Linked DNA regions of Homo sapiens: all the other regions are linked to region 1. The links are contacts of gene promoters, found by promoter capture Hi-C in blood cells and fetal thymus (Javierre and others, 2016). All regions are on one chromosome and are shown on one strand. The core of a region is centred on a gene start or on the middle of the fragment in contact, and the rest is flanking DNA. Distances in the headings are between cores, read along the strand shown. Region 1 holds the start of ZNF660 (zinc finger protein 660). Region 2 has its middle 14 kb from the start of ZNF501. Region 3 holds the start of KIAA1143.

Region 1 (3,848 bases), core at 298-2,797:
TTATATCCAAATGTACAGAAGGAAAACTTGGAACTTAGAGGAAAGCTGGGACTCAAATCCAAGTCCCATGACACCCAATTTTGAGTTCTACTACATCACCCTTATTCCCATCTGAAACAAAACTCTACTCCTCAAGGTCCAGAGGCCCCCTGCCCACTTCAGTGCTTTTCTCCTGTTTGATAAATACCACTGAGAGAAGCTCCCTTTCAACCCTGGTGCCCACAAGCAGGATTCCTGTGCCCAGACTAACTTCACAATCTAGGCCTCACCTGCCCAGGAGAGAATGGAATGACTCACCCATATTCCTGTGCACAGCAGCCTCAATCCAAAGGATCTGCACAGCACAGATCTTGCCTGATCTCCTCCTTGAGTTCAGTGAAGAAGTTCCTAAGAGGGTCTTGAGTCACTGTAAACAGATATAAATGACTGAGTTCTCTGAGCCCTGAATTCCAAGTGGACACTCAGGGCAGTGTCCCATCTTTGGGTAACTTCCCTTCCTATAGAACTGTGGGCAGTAAGAAGGATCATTTCCAGTGTAAAGATGAGGGAATGAAGCTCCCAGGGATTGAACGACTTGCCCAAGGTCCTATAGCTAGTGAGTGATTAAAAAGCCTTCTGTGTCTTCAGGAAATCCTAATTCCATCACACCACAGCCTCCCCTTTTCACCTGCTCCATTGATATCTAAAAGCTTCCATATTCTCATCTAACTGCAAAATACAATGCAGTGGAGAACTTCCTTGCAATCCAGCTTTCCACAGAAAGTCTGCACAAGGGGGATGAGAGGGAGAACTTTGCTGAGTCAAGTGTCTTTAGGAAGACAGAAAGAAACAAGTCTTTAAAAGAGCACTAGAAAAAGAATGTTCCTTTTTTCTGTTTACCCATTTCTTAGGATTACTAAGCCTCAAATATGTTTTGTGTTTCCCCCTCCAGATCCCCAGGCTCTGCTTCTAACCCTTGAAGTTTGTTTCATTTCTCCCCTACTAGAATTTAGTTCTGTCCTGTACACAACCATAACCCCAGGACCTAGCACACTACTGGGTTAGTGCTCAATAAATATTTGTTGAATGAATCAATGAATGAATGAGTAACCTTGGGCAAGACTCCGTCCTCTTCTCTGGGCCCCAGGTTCCTCACTGGTAACGGGAGGGATATTGGACTGGTGATTTGAGTCAAATACTCAGGGGCTGTGGAGTCCTGAGAGCCTAGGCGGGACTCGACCGCTACTACCCGGAAGGCCCACTGCCTAGGAGCGGGGACGACACAGTGCTGTCACCACGGCCAGCCTGGTCCAAGCGAGCAGCTACGAGGAGTCAGAGACTGGACCCAAGACAAAGGGGCAGCACTGAACGAGAGAAAGGGGAGGCCCACAACGACCCCTTGGCTGCCGCGCCCATCTCAGCAGCGGGCAGCCGCAGAGGAGCCCTGGCCTCCTGGCTTGCGTCTCCCACACGCTCCCAGAACCCGGCCCGACCCCCCACGCCAGACTGTAGAGCACCCCTCACCGAAAGCGCCAGACCCACATCTTGAACAAAGCGCAGAAGGAACTGCGTCAGCAACTCCCAGCTAACTCCCAGCCTGTCCCTCCGGCCCTTCTAGGCTTCGTGAGGTTTCCACATCTCTGTGCCCGCGGGCTGGAGTCCCCCCGCCCCTCAGAAGCCCCGCGCGGTCGGCCGACGCTCTGGCCCTGCCTCCCTTCCGGGCTTTGCCCTATCATTGGATGGAAGGGCTTGGCGACTTCAGCCAATGTGAGGAGGGCCCTGGAAGTGGTGGAAGCTGGGCAGGGGGCTTGGTTAGGGCGGAAAGAGACCGAGCATCTGGGTGGCCAGGCTGCCAGCCTCAGGCTGAGACTCCCTAAAGTTACACCCCCAGCTCCGGTTGCTGAGCAGAGAGGTCATCTTTCCTTCCACAGATCTGGGTCATTCAGCCTCAAAGCCAGGATCAGCTATGGTTTATTGGCAGCATATGAAAAGACGTTTTGGGTGCCTACTATGTCACTCACTGTTCCAGGCGCTGCGGATACAGTAGTGAAGAAAATGAACTCTCTGCCCCATTGAGTTTACATTCAAGTCAAGGAGACAATGATAAATAAATATGTAGAACGTAGCAGTAAGGGGAGAGAGGGAGTAAGGGGAGAGAGGGAGATAGTGGTGGGACTATTTTACAGATGACAGGGAGGGCAGAGACAGGAAGTGGGCAATTGAAGCATGTGGCTATCTGGGGAAAGAGTATTCCCATAGTGGGCCATTAGGAGCAAAATTCTTTAATCAGGAGTGGGGTGGAGAGGTGCACATTTAGGATCTTGTAGACTATGATAAGGGCTTTGGATTTGCTCTGCATAACAGCTGGAGGGCTTGGGGACAGAGGAACGACATGATCTAACTTTTTTTCCCTTACCACATATTCAAAGACTTGTTAGCTATGAGACATGAAAGAAGCCAAGAAGCCTGTTACTATAAATTCTGTGAATTCTTTGCTGTCTGTCCTTAGCCATTCTAACATAAACCTTGCATGAATTTTGCTCTTTGACTTATATTTTTAGTTTGCTTTGGCTGTCTTGTTGAGAACGGTCTGAAGGTGGGTAAGAGTAGAATCAGGGAGATTAAGAGGCCATTACAATATTCCAGATGAGGACTGATAGTGGCTTGGACAGGCTTAGAAGTGATGCAGGTAGTGAGAAATGGTTCTGCATATATTTTGAAGGCATGGCCTGCATGATTTGCTAATGAATTGAATGTTGGTTACTGATGACTCCATGGTTATTGATCTGAGCAACTAGCATGGGATGGTCTTTTAGAAATCGAGTAGCTTGAAAGGAACAGGTTTAGGGAGAGGGATTAATAGTTTTGTTTTGGATGTGTTAAAGATGCCAATTAAACATCCAAGATGAAATGCCAAACAGGCAGTTGGAATAGGAGTCTGGACTTCCGTGAAGAGATCACAGCTAAAGACATAAATTTGGAAGTTGTCAGGACAGGATGAGACAATCTAGGGAATGATTTATCTAAGAAGGAGTCTGAGAATCAAGCTTTTGAAGTACTTCGTCAATTGACAAATATTCAGTATTTAATATTGTTGAGTACTTAAAGTATACCAGGAGCTTTCTTCTCCATTGGCTCATGTAGGTGGCACAACTCCGCCACATTGTATAGAGATTGAAAAAGAGATTCAGACAAAAGTCCTCCACAAGTTCACACCCTCAGTTGATGTGGGACGTAGAACTCGGGACACTCTCCTGAAGAGCACAAGACTACTGCCACTACATCAAGAAACTTAAAAAGAATAGGCTGGGTGTGGTGGCTCACGCCTGTAATCCCACCACTTTGGGAGGCTGAGGCGGGTGGATCACCTGAGGTCAGGAGTTCGAAACCAGCCTGGCCAACATGGTGAAACCCCGTCTCTACTAAATATTACAAAAATTAGCTGGGCATGGTGGCAGGCGCCTGTAATCCCAGCTACTCAGGAGTCTGAGGCAGGAGAATCGCTTGAACTCGGGAGCTGGAGATTGAAGTGAGCCAAGATCACGCCATTGTACTCCAGCCTGGAAGACAAGAGTGAAACTCAGTCACACACACACACACACACACACACACACACACACACACGAATATTCATGTACATTAAGGGAGCTGTGATCTTTAACTTACTTAGTCTTCCCTTTCACCTACTCTTTCATTTGGGTGGGTGGGGCCATTCATTCTGATTCAAGCTGCTAACCCTACATCTGGTCCCAGGGAGGAATGATTACTCCTTAATATTCTAGTCCAGTAATTCTCAAATTTTAGAGAACGTAAGGGTCACTAGAATATATGTTAAAAATAGATTCCAGCCTGCCTGTATCCAGCTTCTA
Region 2 (3,967 bases), core at 732-3,231, 160 kb before region 1:
ACCCAAACCACACCTACATTAATTAAATTGGAAACTCTGGTGGTGGAACCAGTAGTTCTGAAAGCTCCCAGTGATTTCAAATTGCAGCCAAGAGTGTGAACCACTGCCCTACAACCTAGGAGACTCTCACTTTTAAGAGGAAAGATGCTCTTTGCTAAGCATGAGGCAGGCAAGCCAAAGGCTAGGCAGGGAGGCAACTTTAGGAAATCCCATGAGAACTGGGCCATGTTAGTGTACAGTATTTCCCTTTTTTTGTGGCCCTCAAACTGGTAAAACCTTATCAAATGTGACAGTCAAGATTTAGCTAGTCTTTGGGAATTAAAGGTAGTAGCAAGGTCCTAGGTTGGGGTTGGAATTGGATAGGAGAGATATGAGCTCCCAGTGTTTATAACACTGATGGTGGCGGCATTGCTTAGAGAGTTTCTAAAGATCATTCTCCAAAAAGAAACTAGGGTTCCTTGGAGAAATAGTTGATTCTGAGGGCTAAAGTGGAGATAGTAAAAACTGATCCTGGAACCTCTTGTGCCAAAAAATTAGGAGGTGTTTAAAAAATGATGAACGGCTGGGGGAGGTGGCTTACGCCTATAATCCCAGCAATTTGGGAGGCCAAGGCAGGTGGATCACTTGAGCCCAGGGGGTCAAGACCAGCTTGGGCAACATGGCAAAACCCCATCTCTATAAAAAGTACAAAAATTAGCAGTATCTAGTGGCGCACACCTGTAGTCCCTGCTACTTGGGAGGCTAAGGTGGGAGGATTGCTTGATCCCAGGAGGTTGAGGCTGCAGTGAGCTGTGATCACAACACTGCAGTCCAGTCTGGGAGACAGAATGAAATCCTGTCTCAAAAATATAAAAATGATGAAGGCATGTCAAAAGGATACAGGAGCCAACTAGCAGGAGTTACCAATGGCCAAATCTGGGGCAATTTGAACAAGGAATTAATGATAGTAGATAACAACTCATAAAATTCTTATTGATATAAACAATATATATATATTTTGAACACATGAGAAGGGCTAGGTCTTCCTTATAGTAGAATTTTAATAAAGTTAGGAGGAATTATGGAAATAGAAACAGTATTTGGCAAATTCCACAGTAAAAAAATTTAGCGGGCTGAATGATGGTCCCTAAAGACAACGGGTCTTGATCCTGGAACTTGTGAATGGTAACTTACGTGGTAGTTTTTGCAAAAGTGATTAAATTAACAATCTTGAGATAAGTGGATTATCCTGGATTATATAAGTGGGTCCTAAATGCCATTACACTCACACCTTTCCTTATAAACGACAGATAGAGGGAGATTAGGCACAATAGGAAATGTGAAGATGGAGGCAGAGACTGGAGTGATGTGGCTATAAGCTGAGGAATACTGGCTGCACCAGAAGCTGGAAGAGACAAGCAATGGATTCTCCCCTAAAGCCTTTGGAGAGAACATGGCCCTGCCAACATCTTGATTTGAGCAGAGTAGCTGATTTGAAACTTCTGGCATCCAGAATTCTGAGAGAATAAATTTCTGTTGTTCTAAGCCACCAAGTTTGTGATAATTTTTTATAGCGGCCATAGGAAACTAATACACAAGTGCTGTTGGAAAGACTCATCAAAGGATGCCAAAATTAGTGGCCAAAATTATGCTCAAAACCAGAGTATTTTCACAGTCTCAAAGTATCTCCCCACAAGACACTAATTACAAAAGAAAAACTAGTGACCAGGCGTGATGGCTCATGCCTGTAATCCCAGCACTTTGGGAGGCTGAGGCGGGCGGATCACAAGGTCAGGAGATCGAGACCATCCTGTGAATGGTGAAACCCCATCTCTACTAAAAATACAAAAAATTAGCCGGGCGTGGTGGCGGGCGCCTGTAGTCCCAGCTACTTGGGAGGCTGAGGCAGGAGAATGGCGTGAACCCGGGAGGTGGAGCTTGCAGTGATCCAAGACTGCACCACTGCACTCCAGCTTGGGGGACAGAGTGAGACTCTGTCTCAAAAAAAAAAAAAAGAAAAGAAAAGAAGAAAGAAAAGCTAGTAACATTACAGTGGAGAAACTAGGCAAATGTCACCTTAACTGCCTGATCAAAGTTAATATTACCAGTAATAAGTCATACTGATGCCAGACTCACGCCTGTAATCCCAGCACTTTGGGAGGCCAAGGCAGGTGGATCACCTGAGGTCGGGAGTTTGAGACCAGCCTGACCAACATGGAGAAACCCCATCTCTACTAAAAATACAAAATTAGCCGGGCATGGTGGCACATGCCTGTAATCCCAGCTACTTGGGAGGCTGAGGCAGGAGAATCGCTTGAACCTGGGAGGCAGAGGTTGCGATGAGCCTTTGCATTCCAGCCTGGGCAACAAGAGCAACAGTCCGTCTCAAAAAAAAAAAAAAAATGTCATACTGACATCATGACCTACTGATATGCACTGAGAAGGACACCTCACTCCCAAAGGCCACGAAGATCCTGCTAGGGCCTTCCTGATGTCCTTTTCAAGGATAGGGCACAAGGGCAACCGATGTCCAGTACTAAAGAGGCCAGAATCCTAGGGTATGGCAATGGCACATAAATGCCAATACAGACTCCAGGGCTTGTCTGGGGTCAAAAGGGTCAGTGTAAAGGTGTCAAATTATCCTCTCTTCTGAACGAGTCCTTTATTCTGAGATTATATCTTTCTTGTTTCTTTGAAGTTAAAATATACTTTATTTTATGAAATAATGATTTTGACAGGTGGTAGTTTATTGTACTTACTTTGCCAAAAGGTTGAAAAATCTATACCAGCGTCCAAAAAATATGTTGAAATTTACTGTCTGGGACTTCCAAACATCAAGTCCAAGTGTTGTCCAATAGAACATTCTGCCCTAGCCACCTATGGCTATTAAGCACTTGAAATGTGGCTAGAGCAACCAAGGAACTGAATTTTTCCTTCTACTTAATTATTTAAATTTAAATAGCCACAAATGGGTCGTAGCTACTGTGTTAGCGCAGTTCTAGGTATTAGTGGGATTTTTTTTTTTTAATTGTTAGGAGTCCTGCAGCCCACAAGGGATTCCCTCCCACTTTGTAAAGGTCAGAGGTGTTCTGATGTTTGACACAAAACAGCACAACATACAGTCATATCTGGCTGGATGGCTCAAGACAACCAGGGCCAGACAGTCACATTGGGAAGGAAGACACATGTCTGAGTTTCCAGGCGCCTGTTTCTGTGGCCCTTTCCCCACTCCTGGGCCTGCTCTCTCCCCCAGAAAGCAATAAACTCTACTATAGAAACTATCTTTCAACTGACACCTACTCTCACCAACCTATGGCTTCTCCCAGATCATGCATGGAGTCTTTCAGGGAGGAGAAAGAGCAGACAGAAGGCATCTGTCCAGGTTTGACGTTAGGAATCCTCCCCATTGGCCCCACAGTCATTCTTAGGCTAATGGCAGCTCTAGGTTTAATATGACTTAGGCATATATGGTCCTAGAAGCTGGGGTAGAAGGGACCATTTAGTATCATCAATTTGAATGTTGTCTTAGAAAGTGGCAATGGCTAAGACAAGCCTGGTCCCTGGAGCTGTTGAGGGACAGCTGACTAGGTTCTTTAGCTACAGGATGAGACCCTGAACTTTGTATTTTTAATCATTGTTTCCCCAAATTCTCCCATGCATAGCCATAACTTTTCTCGCTACTCAGTTGATCATAGCCTCTATTTTCTCCAGAGCCTAGATCCTTCTTAATCTGCGGTGTAGGGTCCTAGAATGCAAACCATCTTCCCAGTTGCTCTGAGACTCTCAATCCTTACCAACCTTCTCCATTCTGCACCAATCCAGCTGGACCAGTCCACTTTTCCCCTCACACCCTGTGCAGATGGTGGCTTGGCATCAGTTTTCCCTTTGCCCTTGCTTCTCCCTGAGTCATCAAGTCAACCTGAGTCTCTGGCACAAATGCAGCAGGACCGTCTGCCTCTCAGAGGAGATTCTCTGTAACCCCATAAGC
Region 3 (3,662 bases), core at 1,099-3,598, 180 kb before region 1:
CCTGTAATCCTAGCACTTTGGGAGGCCAAGGCAGGTGGATTGCTTGAGTTCAGGAGTTCAAGACCAGCCTGGGCAACATGGTGAAACCCTGTCTCTACTAAAATACAAAAAATTAGCAGGGCATGGTGGTGCACGCCTGTAGTCCCAGCTACTTGGGAGGCTGAGGCACGAGTACTGCTTGAACCCAGGAGGTGGAGATTGCAGTGAGCCAAGATTGCGTCACTGCACTCCAGCCAGCCTGGGTGACAGAGCAACACTGTCTTTAAAAAAAAAAAGGGGGGAATCGTATATTTCACTTTTTCATTTCTCTGATTTCACAGTCAGCAACTCATGGTGTCAATGATGTCACTAGAGATAGCCTTCATGGGGCCGGGTGTGGTGGCTCATGCCTGTAATCCCAGCACTTTGGGAGGCCAAGGTGGGCAAATCACGAGGTCAGGAGATCGAGACCATCCTGGCCAACACAGTGAAACCCCGGCTTTACTAAAAATAAAAAAATTAGCTGGGCATGGTGGCGCGTGCCTGTAATCCCAGCTACTTGGGAGACTCAGGCAGGAGAATCTCTTGAACCCGGGAGGCGGAGGTTGCAGTGAGCCAATATCGCACCACTGCACTCCAGCCCGGCAATAGAGCAAGACTCTGTCTCAAAAATAAAAAAGAGAGAGAGAGATAGCCTTCGGGGCACAAAGTAAAAGTTGCAAAGACCACTGCACGGGCTCTCTTCTCCCATGTGTTCCCACTTCATGCTCCAGGCCTCTGGGCTGCTGGGAATGCAAGAAGCACTTTAACTGGGAAGTCATCAACCTCAATTTTGCCAACAAACTTAAAGGAGTGGAAAAGTTCCCCATGGCATCACCACCATCATAAAGGAGAGTGCTCCCACCACTTTAGAAAGGTTCTCAAATTTGGTTTTCAGACAAGAGCCCTCAGTCACATACATATATCTCATTAAATAAGCAGATGTTTTACTTATTTAACAGGCATCAAATTTTTTGCTTGAGTCCAGATTTAGTGACTGATCCATAAAGTGGAAACAAAGAACAAACAGTATGATTGTTCAGAAAGCAGGATGAACATTTCTCTCCAATAAGGTACCATTTTGTGAGCTCATAGTCCTTGAATACTGAAAATGATGAAAGGAAAAGGAATATTTTATATGCAAAAAGGTAGCATAAGGAGGTGTTCCGATTAGGTGTGATCGACCTAAAAGATTAATGAAACAACAAACCCATCAAAAACGACTACAATTGACAGAAAGCTAGAAACATTAACGGCGTTGGAAAGCTCAAATGACAGAAGTTCACAAATTCTTAATCATCTAATCCAGGCCTCTCCTCATTACCATTCAGACCACTCACAAAGATCCCATTAAATCAGCTCATAATCAGGTTTACAAAAATAAGACTCCTTAAGAGATGTGGCAATGTGAGAAGTGGAGCACGTACACAGGCACAGCAAATGACTACGTTAGTGAAAACTGTAGGGTTTATCATAAGCAAAATGACAGTGCTCTCCTCCGTGAAAAAGAGAAAGAAATCGGACGGGTCTCCTTTAAGTGAAAATAGAGACTGTGAGAACATAAAGACATTGCTGACATCTGTGTTTTAACATTCCATTTATTTAAGGAAAGAGGAGAAAGAAATGTTTGGAATATAAATAAACCCTTCCCTATAGGAAGGTCAGAAATGTAGAAATACGCAGAAGCTGGTGGGAGCAAAAGCCGATCCTGAGACAAGGATATCTAGAGAGGTAGCCCTGGTCGGGATGTGGGAAGAGGCCTGCGAAGAAACAGCAGAACCAAGGGAAAGAAAGGGAAGAACGTCAGGTCCACTGCTCATCCCGAGCGCCTAGAACTGCGCCAGACTCCTGGCATGCGCACAGGACACTGAAGGAAGGGATGAGCTTTTCGGCTAGCGTATTGTCTTTGAGCGACAGAGCGGGATTCCCAAACGTCCCCGCCGGTCACTCAGCTCCTGCAGTTCATGCCTAGCAAGAACCTTGCGGGCGGTCCGAGGCTGCCATCCTTTCACAGCTGTATTTGGGGGCAAAAATAGGGTAACGAAGCCGGGGGCCCAGACTTACTTTTGCAGCCGGGTGCCATAGCGCCCTCACCCCTCGATCCCGAAAACAATGCAGCCGGTGCCTCCACCTCCCGACTGCACCGCGCGCGACTGAATTCCGCCCGCTCAAGATGGCCGCAAATTTGAATTTGGCGCTTGGATCGGACGTTGACGCCCGCATGGAGGCCGCCATGTTGCCCGGCCTACGCATCGGGGGCGTGGCCCAGTGACGTCACAGCTAAGCGCCTCTGTATCGTCGCGAATCCGTCGCGGAACCTGTCTTCTGTCTTTACCCAGAGCTACCATGAGCAAGCGGAACCAGGTATCGTACGTGCGGCCAGCCGAGCCGGCGTTTCTGGCCCGCTTCAAGGAACGGGTCGGCTACAGGGAGGGACCCACCGTAGAGACTAAGGTGAGCCTTCGCCAGTCGTGTTTCTTCGGAAGCGCAGCCAGCCCGCCACTTTCAACTTTTGCCTCTACTTGGAGGGTGGGTGCTGTCGGGTCCCTCTTTTCACCCGCGCTCGAACCCAATTCCGGTGGAACTCGGACCCCCAGGCTGGTTCTTTTCAAGCGACCACAGCCCCCTACGCCCAGGAAGCTCTGTAGTTTTCAGAGCGCTGCTGTGTTCCTGAAAATGAACTGACGTGTAAACCACCTGGTCCTTGGTAGATGGTAAAGAAAGATCACTTTATTGTCTCTTCTTTCTCACTTGTTTACCTCAAAAGCTGTGAGTTCGCAGGGTGAGTTAGAGTTACAGCGTCGTCCCGTATTCCAGATAAGGACACAGGCCACTCGATCAAATGACCCCCGCCCCAACCATGTCCTAGGACTCGAGTCTGGAACGTCTTCGGAGGAATGTCCTGAATCTGTTTCTATGCTTTGTTAATTAAAAATAAATAAAAATAATATAGAGAAGGTCGGGCACAGTGGCTCACGCCTGTAATCCCAGTACTTTGGGAGGCCTAGGTGGGCGGATCACCTGAGGTCAGGAGTTCGAGACCAGCAGAGCCAATAGCCAATATGGTGAAACCCCCCGTCTCTGCTAAAAATACAAAAATTAGCCGGGCATGGTGGCACATGCCTGTAGTCCCAGCTACTCCGGAGGCTGAGACAGAATCGCTCGAACCCGGGAGGTGGACGTTGCAGTGAGTTGAGATGGCGCAGCTGCACTCCAGCCTGGACAACAGAGCGAGACTCCGTCTCAAAAAAAAAAAAAAAAAGCCGGGCCTGGTGGCTCACGCCTGTAATCCCAGCGCTCTGGGAGGCTGAGGCGGCAGATCACGAGGTCAGGAGATCGAGACCATCCTGGCTAAAACAGTGAAACCGCGTCTCTACTAAAAATACAAAAAATTAGCCAGGCATGGTGGCGGGCGCCTGTAGTCCCAGCTACTCGGGAGGCTGAGGCAGGAGAATGGCGTGAACCCAGGAGGAGGAGCTTGCAGTGAGCCGAGATCGCGCCACTGCACTCCAGACTGGGCGACAGAGCGAGACTCCGTCTCAAAAAAAAGAAAAAAAAGAAGAGTAAGCAGAAGCCGTAAATATCCTGGGTCTAAATAGAAGAAGAGGAGCTTCAGGAAAGAGCCACACCTGACTATTGTTGTC

Evidence for each region. The method cuts DNA at HindIII sites, captures the fragments that hold promoters and counts their contacts. A CHiCAGO score of 5 or more calls a contact.
Region 2: a fragment that was not itself captured here is called in contact with the fragment with the promoter of ZNF660 in region 1 in 1 of 17 cell types (erythroblasts); the score reaches 5.0 in erythroblasts.
Region 3: the fragment with the promoter of KIAA1143 here is called in contact with the fragment with the promoter of ZNF660 in region 1 in 2 of 17 cell types (erythroblasts and M1 macrophages); the score reaches 6.2 in erythroblasts.

The regions. Positions count from the first base shown.
Region 1 is chr3:44,582,663-44,586,510 of GRCh38, reverse strand. ZNF660 (zinc finger protein 660) reads right to left here and starts at 1,547. Exons shown (of 3, transcript NM_173658.4): 1 at 1,504-1,547; 2 at 298-406. It overlaps ZNF660-ZNF197 (ZNF660-ZNF197 readthrough), which reads right to left and starts at 1,547. Exons shown (of 8, transcript NR_147692.2): 1 at 1,504-1,547; 2 at 298-406. The region is part of intron 2 of ZKSCAN7-AS1 (ZKSCAN7 ZNF cluster antisense RNA 1); the gene reads left to right. It also overlaps a transcript of ZKSCAN7 not described here. The HindIII fragment of the contact is 2,337 bases long and covers 692-3,028 here.
Region 2 is chr3:44,741,586-44,745,552 of GRCh38, reverse strand. No RefSeq gene overlaps it. Among named protein-coding and RNA genes, the nearest start is that of ZNF501, 14 kb to the right of the region's middle. The HindIII fragment of the contact is 4,209 bases long and covers 1-3,967 here.
Region 3 is chr3:44,760,305-44,763,966 of GRCh38, reverse strand. It overlaps KIAA1143, which reads left to right and starts at 2,348. Exons shown (of 3, transcript NM_020696.4): 1 at 2,348-2,472. The coding sequence starts at 2,365. It overlaps KIF15 (kinesin family member 15), which reads right to left and starts at 2,173. Exons shown (of 35, transcript NM_020242.3): 1 at 2,083-2,173. The coding sequence starts at 2,101. RefSeq lists enhancers at 2,123-2,402, 3,193-3,662. The HindIII fragment of the contact is 21,704 bases long and covers 1-3,662 here.